Regions from separate parts of the Homo sapiens genome. Here regions 1, 2, 4 and 5 are each linked to region 3. The links are contacts of gene promoters, found by promoter capture Hi-C in blood cells and fetal thymus (Javierre and others, 2016). All regions are on one chromosome and are shown on one strand. The core of a region is centred on a gene start or on the middle of the fragment in contact, and the rest is flanking DNA. Distances in the headings are between cores, read along the strand shown. Region 1 overlaps AGRN (agrin). Region 2 overlaps C1orf159 (chromosome 1 open reading frame 159). Region 3 holds the start of VWA1 (von Willebrand factor A domain containing 1). Region 4 overlaps CDK11A (cyclin dependent kinase 11A). Region 5 overlaps LOC124903820 (a long non-coding RNA gene).

Region 1 (3,758 bases), core at 1,151-3,650, 390 kb before region 3:
CTTGGGAGAGGTCTGGCTGAGCCAAGGTGACCAAAAGGGGAGAAAGGCTCAGGAGCCCTGGTGCAGGGAGGTGACTGGGTCCTTGGCCATGGGGTTGGGACCTGGGGGGAACCATTGGTCCACAGGTCCAGCCGAAGCCCAGGAGAACAGCTGGCTGGGCATCAGCAGGTGCCCGTTGGATTTGGACTGGGAGTCCCAGGGCCTTGGACAAGGCAGGGCCAAAGGGAGAGGGAGATGCTGAGGGGAGAGAGAAGGGGAACCAGAAGGGAAGTGAAAGGGCCAGGGGTGCATGTGGTTTGAGTTTGATTTGAGCCAGGACGGGGGAAGGCCAGTGGTGATGACAGCCCTCATGACTATACTTACAGTGGCAGCAGACGGGCCACATAGCGCTGTGTGCTGGGCACCCTCTAAGCTTTGCAGATACTGGCCCATTTAACCCCACAATCCTGGGAGGTAGGTCCTATTGCTCCTATTCACCGAAGGGGATACTGAGGCCCAGGCAGGTGATAACCTGCCCACATTCTCACAGTGGGTAATGCAGAGCTGAGCAGCCTGGCTGTAAGACCTGAGGTGGGAGAGTAGCAGAAGAGGGGTGGGGGCACAGCCAAGGTTTGGGGAGGAAGACAGGGATCTGGTGGGGGGAGCATGGGTAGGTTGCAGGGATGGCAGGCGGATGGCCCTCACTCAGCCTTCTGGGGTGGGGGCAGGGACACCCAGACAGACAGCGCCAGAGCCTGGGGTGGGCTGTTGCTATAGCAACAGCTGGCTCCAGCTCCCAGTGCACCCACCCTCCTTGGAGATGGGGGGGGTTCCTCCTGCCCCATTTCACGAGCCTGCTGGGAAGTGATGGGTGGTAGCCACCCCTCTGACATGACTTATTAATGATAATTGGACCCAATTAAACATTTATTAAATCCAGACAGCTGCAGCCGCTAACGGACCCTTCCCTGATCCTGGGTGGGCCATGCTGGGGGTGGGGGTGCTCAGGATGGGCTGCCGCAGGGGCTCTGGGTTTTAACGTGCCTGAGGCAGCTTTGTTGGCCACGTTGAGGTCTGGTGATGGGACGTGTGTCAGGCGCTGTGGTCTGCAGCTGTAAGAACTAAAATGAGCAACAGTTCCTGCACCTCTCCAAGAAGGAAGTTCGCTTTGACAGAGAGTGAGGGCGATGGAGGAGGCAAGAGTGAGGTGGGGGGCCGGGGGATGCCCAGGGAGGAGGGGGCGTGTGGGTGCCCCAGGGATCCCAGGGAGCGATGGGAGGCTGCAGAAGGGCACAGGCCTGCCGCGGGTGGGGGGCTGGCCAGGGAGAATAGGAGATAGTAGAGGCGGAGGCCAGGAATTTGCACTTCTCCAGGGAAGCTGGGGAAGAGTTGGGGAGAGGGAGGCAAGAAGATTCCCCACCCATCTTAGGCGCAGGGAGCGGTCAGGGAGGCGCCAGAGGTGGGCCAGAGCTGTGACCTGGCCTCACACCCCGTCCCGGTGGGGCTCTCAGGCCCCTGAGGGCCAGACGCGGGACCTGGGTGCGACCCGGGCGGGAGGCGGCAGGGCTCAGCTGTGCTGGACGCTGCAGCAGCGCGGGAAGGGGCTCCCCCGGCTCCATGGGGTGAATCGGTGAGGGGCTCCGGTGCCGATGTGGAAGGAGCTCCTGAGCAGAACTGGGGCCTGGACTGCTTGTGCCCGAGTTGGTTTCGAGGCGTCTCTGCTTTTCGCTGGAGGCCCACGAGGTGGGTGGGAAGTGGGTGCTCGCCCGTCGCAGAAACAGAGTCGGGTGCCGCCTGCGGCAGACGCCCCTCTCCGCGCCTGCAGGTGCGGGGTGGGGGAGAAAGGTCATCCCTGGAGAGGCCCGGGGCTGGCGGGAATCCTCGGCGGGCGGGGTCTGCGAGGGGCAGGGCCGGTCCTGTGAGCGCACGCACGCGTGTCCGTGTCCGTGGTGGACCCCCGATGCGGCGCGGGGGCGGGTGAATGCGCGGGCTGCGAGCACGGCAAGGTCTCTCAGGCTTGTGGACGTGGGTACGGGCGTCTCGGCACCCTGAGCTTTCTCCCCTACCCGCCCCAGCGTGCCGGGGAATGCTGTGCGGCTTCGGCGCCGTGTGCGAGCCCAACGCGGAGGGGCCGGGCCGGGCGTCCTGCGTCTGCAAGAAGAGCCCGTGCCCCAGCGTGGTGGCGCCTGTGTGTGGGTCGGACGCCTCCACCTACAGCAACGAATGCGAGCTGCAGCGGGCGCAGTGCAGCCAGCAGCGCCGCATCCGCCTGCTCAGCCGCGGGCCGTGCGGTGAGCGGGGCGGGGCCGGTGCCTGGGGCGGGGAGGGGCGGGGCCTATGAGATGGAGCGAGGCTGGGAGGGGCTTCGGGGCCAGTGGGGCGGGGGCAGGGGCGGGGCCCGGCGGGGAGGAGCGGGGCTGGGAGGGGCCTGGGGGGCGGAGCGGGGCGGGAGCGGGGGCGGGGCCTGCGGGGCCCGGCGGGGAGGAGCGGGGCTGGGAGGGGCCTGGGGGGCGGAGCGGGGCGGGAGCGGGGCGGGAGCGGGGGCGGGGGCGGCCCGTCTGACCGGCAAAGCCCCGCCCGCAGGCTCGCGGGACCCCTGCTCCAACGTGACCTGCAGCTTCGGCAGCACCTGTGCGCGCTCGGCCGACGGGCTGACGGCCTCGTGCCTGTGCCCCGCGACCTGCCGTGGCGCCCCCGAGGGGACCGTCTGCGGCAGCGACGGCGCCGACTACCCCGGCGAGTGCCAGCTCCTGCGCCGCGCCTGCGCCCGCCAGGAGAATGTCTTCAAGAAGTTCGACGGCCCTTGTGGTGAGCGCGGCGGCGGGCGCACGGCTCGAGCTCTGTGGGCGCGCGGCGACAGCGTCCTGACTCCTGCCCTCGACCCCCAGACCCCTGTCAGGGCGCCCTCCCTGACCCGAGCCGCAGCTGCCGTGTGAACCCGCGCACGCGGCGCCCTGAGATGCTCCTACGGCCCGAGAGCTGCCCTGCCCGGCAGGCGCCAGTGTGTGGGGACGACGGAGTCACCTACGAAAACGACTGTGTCATGGGCCGATCGGGGGCCGCCCGGGGTCTCCTCCTGCAGAAAGTGCGCTCCGGCCAGTGCCAGGGTCGAGGTGAGCGGCTCCCCCGGGGGAGGGCTCCGGCCAGTGCCAGGGTCGAGGTGGGCGGCTCCCCCGGGGGAGGGCTCCGGCCAGTGCCAGGGTCGAGGTGGGCGGCTCCCCCGGGGGAGGGCTGCGGCCAGTGCCAGGGTCGAGGTGGGCGGCTCCCCTCTGGGAGGGCCGCCTGCTCCCCTGCTCCCTGCACATCCCAGGGCAGGGATGGAGGGTGCTCCAGCCTCTCCGTGACTCCCTCACCCCTGCGTCCTAGACCAGTGCCCGGAGCCCTGCCGGTTCAATGCCGTGTGCCTGTCCCGCCGTGGCCGTCCCCGCTGCTCCTGCGACCGCGTCACCTGTGACGGGGCCTACAGGCCCGTGTGTGCCCAGGACGGGCGCACGTATGACAGTGATTGCTGGCGGCAGCAGGCTGAGTGCCGGCAGCAGCGTGCCATCCCCAGCAAGCACCAGGGCCCGTGTGGTGAGCGCCCCGGGGTGGAGGCCAGGCGGGGTGGGCTGCTCCTGCGTCAGTCCCTGCCTGGACATCACATGCCATCTTCATCCATCATGTTCCTCTTGGGGTCCTGGGAGTGGGCCGGTCCCTCTGGGAAGGCTCTGGGGAGGGTGGAGCCTGTGTGCGGAGGGTACCTGGATACCTGGGGGCTGGTGAGGCAGAGGCGGGGCCTT
Region 2 (3,800 bases), core at 48-2,547, 320 kb before region 3:
CTTTGTTGACATGCATGGTAGTCGCTGCCCACCTACCCGTGGGCTCAGCACACCGGAGTCGGGCGGTTGCCGTAGGTGGCTCAGCAGACGTGAGCAGGGCAGGATCGGGCCCATCCCCCCACCGGGAATGTCAGGCCACCATCAGGTGATGGTCAGGTGGCTGTTAACTGTCTAAAAGAACTGGTTGCACCCAGCGCCAGGGAAAGACAGGCTCCCAATAGCTAGAAAACACATGAAATCCGGTGATGGGCAGCTTCCCGATACGATCTCAGGAACTGGGCGAGTTGGCTCAAGCGTGTGCACTGAGAGGCAAAATGGCGGCGTGTAACCGTTCTATGACCTTCTAGGGACGTTTGACAGGTAACGGAAGAACGCCTCAGGTGAGCATGGGCACTACTCCAGTGAACACACGGCGCACGGTCCCTCCCTCCAGTGAACACAACGCACACGCTCCCTCCCTCCAGTGAACACACAGCGCATGCTCCCTCCTTCCAGTGAACACACGGCACATGCTACCTCCCTCCAGTGAACACACGGCACATGCTCCCTCCCTCCAGTGAACACAACGCGCACGCTCCCTCCCTCCAGTGAACACACAGCGCATGCTCCCTCCCCCCAGTGAATACACGGGGCATGCTCCCTCCCTCCAGTGAACACACCGGGCATGCTCCCTCCCTCCAGGGAACACATGGCGCATGCTCCCGCCCAAGTACTAGCAAGATGCTGCATGGGTGGACAGCCCACCCTGAAGAAGGATCAGGGGAGAAGGGGTGCAAGACCCCAGAAGCCTGCCAGGCTATAAAACCCCAAGTCAAAAGGTGAAACCGCACACCTGATCTCTCACATCGCCCGTCTGGCCCTCCTCCAAGGGTACTTCCTTTCCTTCCTGCTCTAAAGCTTCTTCAACAACTTTCACTCCTGCTCTAAAACTTGCCTTAGTCGGTGGGGTGCGGTGGCTCACGCCTGTGATCCCAGCACTTTGGGAGGCTGAGGTGGGTGGATCATCTGAGGTTGGGAGTTCGAGACCAGCCTGACCAAAATGCAGAAACCCCTTCTCTACTAAAATACAAAAAATTAGCCGGTTGTGGTGGCAGGCACCTGTAGTCCCAGCTACTCGGGAGGCTGAGGCAGGAGAATGACATGAACCCGGGAGGCAGAGCTTGCAGTGAGCCGAGATTGTGCCACTGCACTCCAGCCTGGGCGACAGAGACAGACTCCATCTCAAAAAAAAAAAAAAAACTTGCCTCAGTCTCTCCTTCAGCCTCATGTCCTTCCATCAAATTCTTTCTTCTGAGGCAGCGAGAATCGAGGCCGCTGCTGACATACTTTGGTGCTGAAACTCAGATACATTCTGCCAGTAATAGAGCTCTGAAGGCTCACCTGAGCTCCACACTCCACCTCGGCACACGCAACCCTCAGCCAGAGTGGTGAGAAGAGGTGGCTCTTTCTTTTCTTTGTGAAACAGGCTGGAGTGCATCGTTGCGATCTCGGCTCACTGCAGTCTCCACCTCCGGGGCTGAAGCGATCCTCCTGCCTCAGTCCCTCGAGTAGCTGGGACTGTTAGTGGCAGAATATGTCCCACTTCTGACACCAAAGCATGTTAGCAGCAGTGAACCTCAATTTTTCCCTCCTCAGAAGAGTTTGATGGACGGGTAGGAGGCAGAAGAGACCTTAGAGCAGGAGCAACAGTTTATGAAGAAGCTTTAGAGCAGGAATGAAAGGAAGTAAAGCGCCCTTGGAAGAAGGCCAGGCAGGAGACCTGAGAGATCAAGTGCGCAGTTTGACCTTTGACTTAGGGTCTTCCACGCTGGAGGCTTCCGGGGTGTTACGTCTCCCGATTCTTCCCTCGGGGTGGGCCGTCCACCCGCACAGCGGCTGCGGGCACTTGGGAGGGAGCATGCACAGAGTTTACTGGAGTTGTGCGCACGCTCCCTCGAGGCCTTTTTTTTTTTTTTTTTTTTTGAGATGGAGTCTCGCTCTGTCACCCAGGCTGCAGTGCAGTGGCGCAATCTCGGCTCACTGCAACCTCCGCCTCCCGAGTTCAAGCGATTCTCCTGCCTCAGCCTCCTGAGTAGCTGGGACCACAGGCGCCCGCCACCATGCCCGGCTAATTTTTGTATTTTTATCAGAGACGGGGTTTCACCATATTCGCCAGGCTGATCTCAAACTCCTGGCCTTCTGATCCGCCCCCCTCCCCCCACGGCCTTGCAAAGTGCTGGGATTACAGGTGTGAGCCACCGCGCACAGCCAGGGCCGCCTTCTCTTACCAGCCAAATGTCCCTGGTAGAGGGGGGCCCCTCTTCTGCCCTGCTCATGTCTGACTAGCTACCTACTGTAACGGGCCACAGGTGCTTGCCCCCATGCCTGGATAATATTTTTTATTTTTTATAGAGACGAGGTCTCCCTATGTTGCCCAGACTGGTCTCAAGCGATCTCCCACCCCAGCACCCACAGCGCTAGCTGTTCTTTAAATGAGCTACCCAGTAAGTCAAAGCTCAGGTGGAGAGCAGCCGCAAGGCAGGGAGCAGCTGGGAGGTATCTCAGGGGTTCCCGGGATGCTGCCTGTGCACCCCAGGGCTGAGGTGACTGCGTGTGGAAACACCTGCCTGACTGGCTTTTAGGAGGAGTACTGGGGGCGGGATGTGTGTCAGGAAAACAACGTTTCTGTATAATTCATAAACATGTATGTTAAAAACAACGTGGCCATGACGGATCCTGGCTGAATGCAAACGGGGAACATAAACCTGAGTAATCAGGCGCATCACTGAACATCCCAGGCGGCCGCCCCTACCCTGGGGCTCAAAACCGGCTCCCTCTGCGAGGGTTTCCCAGGTTAAGCCATCAGGAAACAGGAAGACGCCTAAGAACGATACACTGGACTTTGGGGACTCGGAGGGAAGGGTGGGAGGGGGACAAGGATAAAAAGCTACAAATAGGGTGCAGTGCGTACTGCTCGGGTGATGGGAGCACCAAAATCTCACAAATCACCACTAAAGAGCTTACCCATGTAACCAAGTAACCAAACACCACCTGTACCCCAGTAACTTACGGAAAAATAAAAGAGGAAGACGCAGCTCTGCCTTCTCTGCACACCCTGGTAATACTAAGAAAAATGAAAACCAAAAAAAGGAGGCCAAGTTTGACATCCTGAAATTTAACAGGACGAGGCGGCTAAGAATTCAGCCACAAAATAGTTCCCGGGGAAGAAGCCGCGTTTGCTTTGAAACGCGGTAAGAAATGCCCCCGAACACCTGGGCTTAAATTACACCCAAACTCAATCATCGACTCGCTGCCACCGGAACACGCGCTCCCGAAAAACTGCACCCCGACTAGCCCTCGGCTACTCCAGGTGACAAACGGACAAAAACAAATCCTAAAGCCTCGCGGGAAAAAGACCTGAATCGTGGCCGACTTCTAGGACACCGGGGACCGCGCCGGTGCCCCCACTCCCGGCTGCCGGGAAGGCGAGGCGAACGCGCCCCCTTTCTTCCCCCGGGCGCCCGTCCCATCCCCTCCCCAGGGACCCCCTCCCTGCCCCGAGAACCCCCTCCCCTCCCCAGGTGCCCCCTCTCCCCCAGAGACCCCCTCCCCTCCCCAGGGACCCCCTTCCCTGCCCCGGGAACCCTTCCCCTCCCCAGGGACCCCCCTCCCTCCCCAGGGACCCCCTCCCCTCCCCAGGGACCCCCTTCCCTGCCCCGGGAACCTTTCCCCTCCCCAGGGACCCCCCCTCCCCGCTCCGGGAACCCCCTCCCCTCCTTAGGGACCCCCTCCCCACCCCTCCCCGGGGTCCCCCTGCCCTC
Region 3 (4,003 bases), core at 4-2,503:
GATCCCCGGCAGGGGGGGTGGGGGGCGCCGGCGGGGACACAGCTCTCCCTTGTTCCTGCCGCCAGCTCCTCAGCCTCAGCCTGCTGCTTCCTTTTTTAGGCAAAGTCGAGTGCTGGCCGTCCGCACGGCCCCGCGGTGTCTCACCTGCCTGAAAGGGAGGAAGGAAGCCTGTGGAGCCCCATCCGTTCTCCCGCGGCGCATCCTCCAGGAGAGGGTGGGGAAGGAGGAGACATCCTGGCAGACACCCCCCCACGTCCCCCACCTCCCAGCTCTGAGCTGAGGAGGCCCTGGAAGAGGGCCATGGCTACTCCGAGGGAGGGCCGGGGTAGGGTTCTCCTGTCCAGGGGACACTGCTGGCCCAGCCCCACCCAAGCAGGGGAAATCTGCCCTGGGAGCCACTGTCCCTCAGGACGCCCCCTGCAACCAGCCACCTCTCGTCTGGGCCTCACCAAGACCCCAAGACTCAAGAGCTCCTGTCTCACCAGTGGGACCCTCCAGTCCTGCTGGGGGTGTGTCCTGGGTCCTGGAGTCTGGGCCCCTCACTGGGTAGGGTATATGGGTAACAGGCCCAGTGTGGTCCCACTGGACAGGGCCTCAACCAACCATCTCCCACTCCCATGCCTCTTCCTCCAAGAAGCCCAGGTGGCGTGGGTGCTTCGAGTCTCTCTCGAATTCCTGTCTTCTGTCCCCTTTCAAGCCACTGTGTCCTTGTAAGTTCCACCCCATGGTCCTTCCCATCCCTGCTGGTCAGTCCCTGGGATACATGTCCTGTTACTCCAGACACCTATCCGCCTCCAGCGCGGAGGCCAAGGCGAAACCACGGTCTGGACGTGTTTTTTTGGTGCCACCGCCAGCCCCTGGGGTTCTCTTGGGCCTGGCTGCTGGGACCCCAGCACCCAGAGTCACGGCAGTGGTGGGCATGGGGAGGGCCTAGCCTGGTACCTCCCTGCTCGGCTCCCGCGGCTGGGGGTCGGAGAGGGGTGGAGAGCGTGGGCCGCACAGCCTCGGCCGGGAGAGGGAGACTGGAGTGTGTGTGTGTGCGTGCCTGCGCGTGCGTGCCTCGGTCGTATCTCGGCTGGTGCTGCGTGTCCCTGCGTGTCGGGGTCCGCTCGTGCGCGCCTCTCCGGGGTCTGTGCGCGTGGCCCTCCGCTCGCGCCGGAGGGCGTGGGCGTGGCCTCGGCGTGGGTGTGGCCGCTCGGGGAGGGGCCTCCCGGGGGCGGGGCCGGCCTGGTCCGCGCGGTGACGCGCCCTGCAGCCCCGAGCGAGCGAGCGAGCGAGCGAGTTGCCGAGCGCGCCCCGTCCCTCGCGCGCGATGCTCCCCTGGACGGCGCTCGGCCTGGCCCTGAGCTTGCGGCTGGCGCTGGCGCGGAGCGGCGCGGAGCGCGGTGAGTGCGGCGGGCGGCCGGGCCGGGGCTGGGGCTTCTGGTGACCGCTCTGCGCCGCTGCCCGCGCAAGGCCGTCGCTGTCCCCTGCTCCGGACGGGCGGGCGGGCTGGGAGGCTGCGGGAGCCGGGCGGGGGCGCGGGCGGAGCGTCCTGCTCACCTGAGGCTGGCGGCCCAGGTGCTCCAGGCGACACCGTCCGTGAGCGCCGGGGCATAGGGGCCGTCCCGGCCCGCATCTCTGCGGGATCGCGGGCCTGGACAGGAAGAGGGAGATGTCTGTCAAGGGGGCACCCCTGCCTCAGTTTCCCTACCCTTGCGAGGGCCCTTAGTGGAGGGATGGTAGGGAAGTTGGAGTCGCCCCACCGCACTGGGGAAAACCGCAAGGCCGGGACTAGAATTGAGGCACGCTGGTGCCCTGGCTTGGTGGGGAGGGGCGGTGTAGGGGGCATCAGCCTCCACCCCGGAGGTGCCCGGAGGAAGGGGGAAGCCTGCGAGGGGCTGTTCCGGCTTTCAGGCTGCTGGGGGTTATATCTTGTTGTGTGAGTCCAGGTGGGCTGGAGGATGGAGGCCAGGGGAGGGGCCACCATCTAGTAAGCGGGGTCTGGGCTCCAGCCAGGCCATCCGGCGTGGTCATTGCTGTGCCTCCGACACCTTCCCCTGCTGCTGTGTGCATGCCCAGGGTGCCTCACCTGCAGGCTGAGCTGCGTGGCTGAACTCCAGCCTCAGGCTGCTCCTCTGAAAGCCATGCCTGGAGGGAACAGCCCCACGGCTCAGGCCTGTCCTGGGGGCCTAGGCCAGGACTCTTGGCTCCACCTGCTTGCAGGGTCTGTGAGGAATGGGAAGGTGTGGGGGCTTGGAGCGGAGAGTCGCCCTCTCACAGATGGGATAACACAAGCCCAGAGAGAGCCCTAGATCCCATGGCCAGTGTGCAGTGAAACCCCCAAAAGTACAGGCCTCTTGCTTAGAGTTCCTCTTTCCCCCAACCTAGGACCTTTGGGAGAAGGCAAGCATCCACTTAAGGAAAGCTGGGGCCCTGGGGGACCCTGCCTTGCTGTGGGGCTGTCTGGGGGGCCCACACCTGAGGCTGAGCATTCCTCCTTTCCCCCAGGTCCACCAGCATCAGCCCCCCGAGGGGACCTGATGTTCCTGCTGGACAGCTCAGCCAGCGTCTCTCACTACGAGTTCTCCCGGGTTCGGGAGTTTGTGGGGCAGCTGGTGGCTCCACTGCCCCTGGGCACCGGGGCCCTGCGTGCCAGTCTGGTGCACGTGGGCAGTCGGCCATACACCGAGTTCCCCTTCGGCCAGCACAGCTCGGGTGAGGCTGCCCAGGATGCGGTGCGTGCTTCTGCCCAGCGCATGGGTGACACCCACACTGGCCTGGCGCTGGTCTATGCCAAGGAACAGCTGTTTGCTGAAGCATCAGGTGCCCGGCCAGGGGTGCCCAAAGTGCTGGTGTGGGTGACAGATGGCGGCTCCAGCGACCCTGTGGGCCCCCCCATGCAGGAGCTCAAGGACCTGGGCGTCACCGTGTTCATTGTCAGCACCGGCCGAGGCAACTTCCTGGAGCTGTCAGCCGCTGCCTCAGCCCCTGCCGAGAAGCACCTGCACTTTGTGGACGTGGATGACCTGCACATCATTGTCCAAGAGCTGAGGGGCTCCATTCTCGGTATGCGGGAGGAGGCAGGGCCCAGGGAGCCCTAGCTGGGAGCCGCAGAAGGAGAGGCTGGGTTGAGACTTTGGGAAGATCTCATGTCCCCAGAGCAGCGGCCAGGGCCTCCGGGGCTGTGGTACCCCTAGGGTGCAGGGCTGAGTGATGCAGCTTGTCTATGCACACTCTTCACTGGGCGACCCGTGTACCCTGCTGAGACGGGGGCAGGCTTGAGTAGCCACCTCCAGGTGTAGCTCCCTGCTGATGTGTCCAGCCCAGACCTCGAGGCCCCAGGGAGTGCAGAGCCCGGGTGTAGGCCCAGGAAGAAGCTTCCAAGTCTGGGGACTCTGCAGATGGGCAGCATGTGCTCCTGAGCATGCCCACCATACCTGGAGAGGGGTGAGCCAGAAAGGTCAGGGACTGCCCCCCCAGAGAGCACAGGGCACCTCTCCTGGGTGGGGACAGCCGCCGAGGGCTTTGAACTAGTTCGGACTGCAGGCCCACTGTGAGGGTTTCCTGAGAGGCCGGACCAGGGAAGGCCTGAGGCAGGAGCTGAGCAGCTCCCATTGGCTTTTTTTCTGGACCTCCCTGCCCCAGCCAAGCCCTGAAGGAGCTGGGGCTGGAGATGAGGAACCGGCCACTGGCTCAGCCTGCTGCAGCCACTGAAAAATGCCAACCCTGGGGATCTCACCAAGTCTCCGTCTGTGGGTTAATCATCCACCCAGAGCCGGAAGGGGTTGGACTGTGGGTTGGAGAGGGGTGGACGGCCCTCCCCAAGGTTTCCCCAGGGACGTCTGGCCCCTAGTGGCCCCAGGTCACCCAGTGCAGCTGCGCCTGGAGGGGACCAGGAGGAAAGGCTGCCTTAAGCAGCCAAAGGAAAAGCCTGAGGCTGCAGTGCCGAGGGGCCAGGCAGCAGGGTGGGGGCTCCTGGGAAAGAGGCCGGGTCTGAGGGTGGGGGATGGGAAGAAAGTGG
Region 4 (3,899 bases), core at 1,293-3,792, 280 kb after region 3:
TCTCTCTAAGCAGCTTGAGTATGCCACTCCACTGCCTTCTGGCCTCCATTGTTTCTAAGAAGTCAGTGGCTGGCGGTATTGAAGCTCCCCTTTCATGGGATGGGTCATTCTTCTCTGAGCCCTTTCAACATTTTCTCTTTGGCCTTTGCCAGTTTGACTATGATGTGACTTTGCATTTATTCTAGTTCAAACTTCCTGTGCTCTTGAATGTGCATATTTTTTAATTAAAATTTGGAAAGTTTTTAACCATTATTGTAACAAATATCTTTCCTCTCTCCTGGAACCCCCATTCGACGTGCTTTGGTACAGCAGATGTTGTACCACGGGTTTCTGAGGCTCTGTGCATTTTTCTTGTTTTTTTCTCTCTGTTCTTCAGAATGGATAATTTCTACTGCTCCATCCACAAGTTGTTTCCAAGCCTTTACTAAATTCAACATCTGGACACTCAAGACAGTTTCTACTGATGATGTTCTTCCTCAGTACGGGTCACACTGTCATACTTCTTTGTATTTTAGATAATACATTTGTAGCAATTCTGGATTCTAAGTTTTCCCTTTCGTTGTTACCACCAAGGCCTGTCTGGTTGTCCGTGAAATCCATCTCCCTCATAGCTCATGGCCACCCCGTTCCTTCCCACATGCCTATTTTAATTTTCAACCTTGGCTTCCTAGGGGTCACCACCATGGCTGCACAGCTTAGCAATTAGCCAGCACTGGAAAAAGGCTGGGCTCAAATACCTCGAGCACAGTAAGGCTTCCTTGGCCCACGGCTGTGTGTGGACAGGGAGCACACTGAACGTTCAGGCGTCATTCGCATCTGTGGCGGCTTCTATTTTCTGCTAGGTCCTTTCACGCAGCTGCATCCTCAGGGCTGGTCACAAGTGGGTGGCGGCTCGAGCTCTCTCCAGTCTCTGCTGCACGTCTTTGGCGGGATCACAGCTGCTCCCAACCACACTGTACTTCATTCTAGCAGACCTCTTGGCCTTTTCCTCCCTCCACTGAGGATGCTGGTGGGCAAGGCCACTGCCCACTGCTCTAAACGGAGTAACCCCTTCCAAGGCAGCAAGGAAACTGCAGGTCCTGCAGCTGCCCTGTCCCAGTGGAACCTCCGTGCTTCCAAGTGCAGAGTGGAAGCAGTAAAGGGAGCAGCTCTCAGGCCAGAAGGTCAGATTCTTACTGCTTTTACCCACAGCTCAGCAGTTTTCCAAGCATCAGTGCTTCTCAGATTATCCTTATCAGTTTCCTTTTTGTCAGAGACAAGGTCTCTCTACGTTGCCCAGGCTGGCGTCATGCGGTCCTCTGGCCTTAGCCTCCCACGTAGCATATGCTACCACACCCAGTTCTGGATTGGCTGATCTGAATCGGCCCTACCCAGAAGTCTGCCCCCAACAATTTTTGTTCATTCACTCTCCTGTCTTTACCTTCTGGGAAATCAATATGACAGCCCAAATTTCATCTACCAACCTCCACTTCTATCCCAAGCTCTACTCTCGTGGGACAAGACACACTCAATGTCTGGCACAGGGCGTGGCATACATGAATGTTTCACACACTAACAGGAACTAGGCCAACTGAAACCTTGCTCACCCAGCAGCGGTCTCGGACCTTGACCCCTGGGCCTCAGTGTCTCCCACACCCTTCGGCATCAACAAGAACCAGCGCCCTCTCATCATCTTTACATGCTGTGTACCCAGCCCTGGCTGCTGGCAAACATCGCTGCACACGCCCTTCCGCTTCAGACTCCTCTCTTCCTGGAGCAGCTTGCAAGCTTTCTGTGGACTCACTCTGAAGGCGGAGATGGGCCTGCTCGCACCTGGCCTACAGCCTTTTTCCTGGTTCACAGAACAGATCTGGGGCTACACCGATGTTCTTTCTTGGGAATCTGGCTCATAAAGGGGAACGAATATACAGACTAATGGCCAGGAGTCCTAGGAGTCCAGTGTCCCGATTTCCAGACTGTTTCAAGGTTTTTGGGATCTCCCTTCTCCTTTTTTTGAGACAGTCTCACTCTGTCAACCAGGCTGGAGTGCAGTAGCATGGTCATAGCTTACTGCAGCCTTGACCTCCCAGGCTCAAGGGATCCAACCACCTCAGCCTCGTAAGTGCTGGAATTCTAGCGTGAGCCACTGCGCCCGGCGGGACGTGCAGATTTCTGATCCCTTCATTGTCTTCCCTCAATCAAATCACACCCGTTCTTACTTCCAGATGCAGTGAAAACTCACTCCCTCAGGACAGTTCTCTTGGTCAGCCTCGTCCAGCGTTCACTGTGCTGTTTCCATGTCTACCACTTCTGCAACAAATGTGACTTCTATTGCCAAATTCTTCTTCATTGCTGTGACAGGACACACTACCACGGCCCTTTCATAAAGTCCTCAACTGACCCAGCCCACTCACCTTTCTCTCCTGGAATGCTCCCTTGCCATTTCCCTTCTCTTCTGTCTTTCCCATTCCCGGCGAGCTTTATCCTGTTCTTCTCGATGTCGTTTCCGACGTTCGTGCTCTCTTTCTTTCACTCTAGCATGCTTCCCTAATGAGAAATAAAGTGTCATGCAAAGAAACCTCACTTCAAAAATTTCACGAGGCCGGGCACGGTGGCTTACGCCTGTAATCCCAGCACTTTGGGAGGCCGAGGCGGGTGGATCACCTGAGGTCAGGAGTTCAAAACCAGCCTGGCCAACATGGTGAAACCCCGTCTCTACTAAAAATACAAAAATTAGCTGGGCGTGGTGGCAGGCACCTGTAATCCCAGGTACTAAGGGAGGCTGAGGCTGTAGAATCACTTGAACCTGGGAGGTGGAGGTTGCGGTGAGCCGAGATCGTGCCACTGCACTCCAGCCTGGGCGAAAAAGTGAGACTCCATCTCAAAAAAAAAAAAAAAAAAAAAAAAAAAAAAAAAAAAAATCACATGAAAATGAAATTAAATCAAGAACATTAAATATTTAAATAATGATGTTAAGTAATCCTAATCTTTTTTTTTTTTTTTTTGAAGAGACAGGGTCTCACTATATTGGCCAAGCTGGTCTTGAACTCCTGGGCTCAAGTGATCCTCCATCCTTGTCCTCCCAAAGTGCTGGGATTACAGGCCTGGGCCACTGCACCCAGTCGAATAATCATGATTTTATGTTAAATAAAAAACTTTGAAAATAGAAAACTATCTGCAGTAAGCGTCTAATTATGAAGAAAGAAGAAAAAAGAAAAACAATTCTGCTATCACAGAAGAGAATTGTAATATTCATCTTTTAAAAATTTTCTATACTGAATAAACTATAATTATCAGTTTTATAATACAAAAACCACTCTTCACAAAGACTACAGAACAAAGCTTTGCTATCAGTGGGCTTCTCCACTGTGCAATGAAGCCACATTAATTAATCAAGCGTATTTATAATAATGAGATTTCAATCGGGCTCCAGGTCCAATTTTCCTAACACCCGTAAGAATCTCCTGATGTTGGTACGAGATCAAACTGCTCAAGCCTAACCCATTCTTTGGACTTGAGCAAATACCCATTTTGGGGTGTGTTTTTCTCCTATACTTGTTGAATTCAGGTCATTTTAAATGTAAACAAACTGCTCCCAAACAATATAATGGGGGAGAGAAAACCCCAGAGGAAAAATGGACTAGCCATTCTGAATGGTCTGTGACACACGCACGCTTTCAGCTAGAGTTTGCTCTCTCTGGTTTTCGGTCTGTGACACACGCATGCTTTCAGCTAGAGTTTGCTCTCTCTGGTTTTCGGTCTGTGACACACGCACACTTTCAGCTGGAGTATCCTCTCTATAGCCCCTCTGAACGGTCTGTGACACACGCATGCTTTCAGCTAGAGTTTGCTCTCTCTGGTTTTCGGTCTGTGACACACGCACGCTTTCAGCTAGAGTATCCTCTCTATAGCCCCTCTGA
Region 5 (3,551 bases), core at 964-3,463, 300 kb before region 3:
AGGGCTGGCGGCTTCTGCTATTGGCTGGGGGGTGGTGAGGGTCAGCTGGGGCCTGCAGGGCTGTGCTGGCCAGGTGGGCCGGGCCTGGGGTCCCACAGCCTGAGCGGAGATGCCTGGAGGGGGCCACAGGGTGACCATGTGCCCCCCGGGAGAAGCTGGGGTCTTGGGTCCCCGTGATGATTATGGGTGTCTGGGGGTTCCTGTAGGAAAAGATGGCTGCGAAGGCCCCAGAGTTCCTCGGGGCCTGTGAATGACCCAGCCAGGGGGCCCTCAGAGGGGGAGAGAGACTGAGAAGCCATGATTTACATTTCCTGGCAGAGAGCTCTTGCAGGGAAACCAAATTTATTCCAGTTGACAAGGTGCGTGGGCATTGGGAACAACGTGGGTGGGGGCACAGCCTCCTCTGTCCCGGCCGAAATCCAGTCCTGCAGAGATTTGGAGCACAGAGCATCAGGGCCGCCTGTGAGGCACAGAGCGAATGGGGCACCAGCCTGCCCTCGGCCTCAGACACGGAGAGGCTCCCACGGCACTGAGCCACGCATGGCCACGCGACAGAGGGACAGAATGCCGTGGCCGTGTAGGGGAGCTGCACTCTGCGTGGCCCTGGGATGGGAAAATCCAGGGAAACAGACACTGTTATGGATGTGAGCATCGGCTGCCAGAACGAGAGGAAGCAGAAGAGGGGAAAAGGCCGATTATCGTAGAAGAGTTAGGAAAATCAATCAAAGATACCCCCTTGAGAACAGTTAAGTTCACAGCTGTGAGTTCTGGAAACCTTTATGTTTTAAAAATGATTCCGAGGACTCAGAGGGTAAAGCTCGCACCAACTTAATTTGTTATTGCCTTTTCTATCAAAGTTATGCTTGTGGCCGGACACAGTGGTTCGCATTTGGGAGGTCAAGGCGGGCGGATCACTTGAGGTCAGGAGTTCGAGACAAGCGTGGTCAGCATGATGAAACCCTGTCTCTACTAAAAATACAAAAAAATTAGCTGGATGTGGTGGCGGGCACCTATAATTCCAGCTACTCTGGAGGCTGAGGCAGGACAATCGCTTGCACCTGGAAGGCGGAGGTTGCAGTGAGCTCAGATGGCACCATTGCCCTCCAGCCTGGGCAACAGAGTGAGACTCTGTCTCAAAAAAAAAAAAAAAAAAAAAAAAAAAAAACCAGTTATGCCTGTAGGTTGCTTGAGAGTCAAACACTTCTGCAAGGCTTGGACACATATGATCTTCAGGCCGCGCCGAGGCCACCAGCTCCGTGTGCTGGGAGGCTCCTGTGTTTACTTCCAACGTCACTGGCAAACGGCAGCTTCTCAGCACTCCAGCTTCAGGGTCAGCCCTGAATCTGCCCTGTGGAAGGGGCTGTTTGCCGCCCTCCCACCTCTCGTCCCGCCGTCACGCGCCGCGCCTGGTCTCTGCTGTCACTCTGCTGGGCGCCGGGGACTAGCTTGGTGCCAGGTCCACCGTGGCCGCCTGTTCTCACCCGAACTCTGAGCTGTTTCCCTGAAGTTAATAATCGCCTTTGCTTTTCTTCTTGCTTAGCTTTCTCTGAACTCATTACTAATTCAGCCTCAGACTCTCCCCCATGACTTAAATTCCGGCACGCCAGGTATTTCTGAGGGGCCTCCGGGAGCCTCCTGCCCTGCCCGGGGCTGGTCGGCTCCCTCGGGCCTGGGGCAGGGCTGGCGTCTTGCAGGCTTCGTGGTCCGTGTCACAAAGGTCCCATTGCTTCTCCCCTGGGTGGGATTTTCCCGGGCCCCACACCTCCCCTTTCTTGTCTTCTCAGTGTTTTGGTGGAACAAGCCCCTCGCAGCTCCCCGTGAGGTGCAGGGGGTGGGCCCCCACCACGCCCACAGCTGCAGCTGCCTGTGAAGGGCACAGGGCGGGCCCCCACCAAGGCCTTCGCTTCCCTGCGAGTTGAGAAAACCTCGCCGCAGGGTCCCCGGCTCCCGAGGCTGCTGTGGGTCCGGCAATGGCATCCCAACCCCGGGGCCTTGGTATGGAACCTGTTTCTGCGGGTTTTTTCCTGAAAGTTTTTGGGGCCTTCTTTTTGTCTCCATCTCTGCTGTCCTGTGAAGGTGGATCTTTGTGTGGTTCCGTTTTCATCCCTTTCACGGGGTCCTCAGTGGCTCTTTCTGTCTGGAAATGCCTGAGCTTCGGCTCCAGGAAATGTTCTTGAATTACAATTTTTAAATGATTTTGTTCTTTATCTTTTCTTTTTGTTGTTGCTCTCTCTTTCTCTGGTGAATATTGCTGCAATTTGGAGCAGGTCCTCTAATCACCTTTTCTATCCCATTTTCTTTGCCTTTTCACGTCACGTTCGGGGAACGTCCTGGCTCCGTCCCTTCCAGCGCTTTTCGTTTCTGTCCTCGGAGTCATTCTTTTTAAGACGGAGTCTCGCTCTGTCGCCCAGGCTGGAGTGCAGTGATGTGATCTCGGCTCACTGCAAGCTCCGCCTCCTGGTTCACGCCATTCTCCTGCCTCAGCCTCCCGAGTAGCTGGGACTACAGGTGCCCACCACCATGCCTGGCTAATTTTTTGTATTTTTAGTAGAGACGGGGTTTCACCGTGTCGGCCAGGATGGTCTCGATCTCCTGACCTCATGATCCGCCCGCCTCGGCCTCCCATAGTGCTGGGATGACAGGCGTGAGCCGCCACGCCCGGCCCCTCGGAGTCGTTCTTTCTGTTGCATCCTCATGGTTTTCTGTGGCCACGTGCTTTCGCTCATCTCTTCGAGGACGTTCCTGATAGTTTGTGCCTCTTCTTTTCAAGGCTTCTTCTCCTTGCACAAGACGGTCTGGAGAAAAACCCGCATTTCCTTCCGTCACACTGACCACATTTAACTTAAAATGGGAAGAGAGCAAAACATTCCACAGGCAAAGTCAGGGGACTATTTTAATGACAGAGACACATGGTTGAAATCAATGCTGCACTCTGAGCCCTTAGAAACCGTCGCAAAGGACTCCACGGAAGGGTGGGGGCAGCCCCAGCGAGGTCGTCAGGGAGCAGAGCCCGAGTCATGGGACACAAGGCCGGACCCCTCACCGCCAGGGAAGCGGAGTCACAGGCACGTGGCCCTCTGCGCCCAGGGTCAGGGCACGGGAGGCAGAGCCTGAGACGGGGGTGCCCATGCAGGGTGTGCTGGGGGTGGGGTTGTGGGGCCTCTCAGGGGCAAGGGGCAGGACCGGACAGCAGAGAGATCCCACTCCTGCCTGAGACCCGCCGCCATCGCCGCCGCGAGCCCTGCGTTGGGCATTGGGGCCAGGCACCTGCCAGGAGGGCCTCTTCCGAGGTGGGGTGTCACCTGGGATGTGTCCGCTGGCAAATGGGAGAAACACCAGGGCGGCTGCCGGGGAGGTCGATGTCAGGGAGCCCGTAGCCCTGAGCCCATGTGTGGAGGAAGCCCTTTGTCTGAGGAGCCTGCGGCCGCCTTGGACCCTGGATGCTTGCAGGGAATCTACACAGGGTTGTCAGGTACGACAAGGGTGCCCAGGGCTGAGGAGGGTGCCCATGCGGCCTCCTACAATGCGTATGGGAAGCCGGTGAACGCCCT

The links. The method cuts DNA at HindIII sites, captures the fragments that hold promoters and counts their contacts. A CHiCAGO score of 5 or more calls a contact.
Region 1: a fragment that was not itself captured here is called in contact with the fragment with the promoter of VWA1 in region 3 in 2 of 17 cell types (naive B cells and naive CD8 T cells); the score reaches 5.7 in naive B cells.
Region 2: a fragment that was not itself captured here is called in contact with the fragment with the promoter of VWA1 in region 3 in 1 of 17 cell types (total CD8 T cells); the score reaches 5.2 in total CD8 T cells.
Region 4: a fragment that was not itself captured here is called in contact with the fragment with the promoter of VWA1 in region 3 in 2 of 17 cell types (endothelial precursors and activated CD4 T cells); the score reaches 6.4 in endothelial precursors.
Region 5: a fragment that was not itself captured here is called in contact with the fragment with the promoter of VWA1 in region 3 in 1 of 17 cell types (naive CD4 T cells); the score reaches 5.3 in naive CD4 T cells.

Annotation. Positions count from the first base shown.
Region 1 is chr1:1,038,611-1,042,368 of GRCh38, forward strand. AGRN (agrin) reads left to right here. Exons shown (of 36, transcript NM_198576.4): 4 at 2,055-2,270; 5 at 2,563-2,787; 6 at 2,868-3,092; 7 at 3,346-3,552. Among named protein-coding and RNA genes, the nearest start is that of AGRN, 20 kb to the left of the region's middle. RefSeq lists an enhancer at 936-1,614 and a silencer at 2,170-2,379. The HindIII fragment of the contact is 3,981 bases long and covers 411-3,758 here.
Region 2 is chr1:1,111,973-1,115,772 of GRCh38, forward strand. All of the region lies in intron 1 of C1orf159 (chromosome 1 open reading frame 159), which reads right to left. Among named protein-coding and RNA genes, the nearest start is that of C1orf159, 2.2 kb to the right of the region's middle. RefSeq lists enhancers at 1-318, 537-831. The HindIII fragment of the contact is 804 bases long and covers 896-1,699 here.
Region 3 is chr1:1,434,437-1,438,439 of GRCh38, forward strand. It overlaps VWA1 (von Willebrand factor A domain containing 1), which reads left to right and starts at 1,254. Exons shown (of 3, transcript NM_022834.5): 1 at 1,254-1,385; 2 at 2,491-3,048. The coding sequence starts at 1,313. LOC107985729 reads left to right here. Exons shown (of 4, transcript XM_017003066.2): 4 at 100-1,113. The coding sequence ends at 714. It overlaps LINC01770 (long intergenic non-protein coding RNA 1770), which reads right to left and starts at 137. Exons shown (of 2, transcript NR_125996.1): 1 at 1-137. RefSeq lists silencers at 13-307, 1,054-1,423, 1,182-1,371 and enhancers at 165-908, 168-227. The HindIII fragment of the contact is 8,860 bases long and covers 1-3,357 here.
Region 4 is chr1:1,713,953-1,717,851 of GRCh38, forward strand. It overlaps CDK11A (cyclin dependent kinase 11A), which reads right to left. Exons shown (of 20, transcript NM_024011.4): 5 at 2,394-2,526. Among named protein-coding and RNA genes, the nearest start is that of CDK11A, 8.5 kb to the right of the region's middle. The HindIII fragment of the contact is 1,554 bases long and covers 1,766-3,319 here.
Region 5 is chr1:1,129,052-1,132,602 of GRCh38, forward strand. The region is part of intron 1 of LOC124903820 (a long non-coding RNA gene); the gene reads left to right. Among named protein-coding and RNA genes, the nearest start is that of LINC01342, 6.2 kb to the right of the region's middle. The HindIII fragment of the contact is 4,801 bases long and covers 1-3,551 here.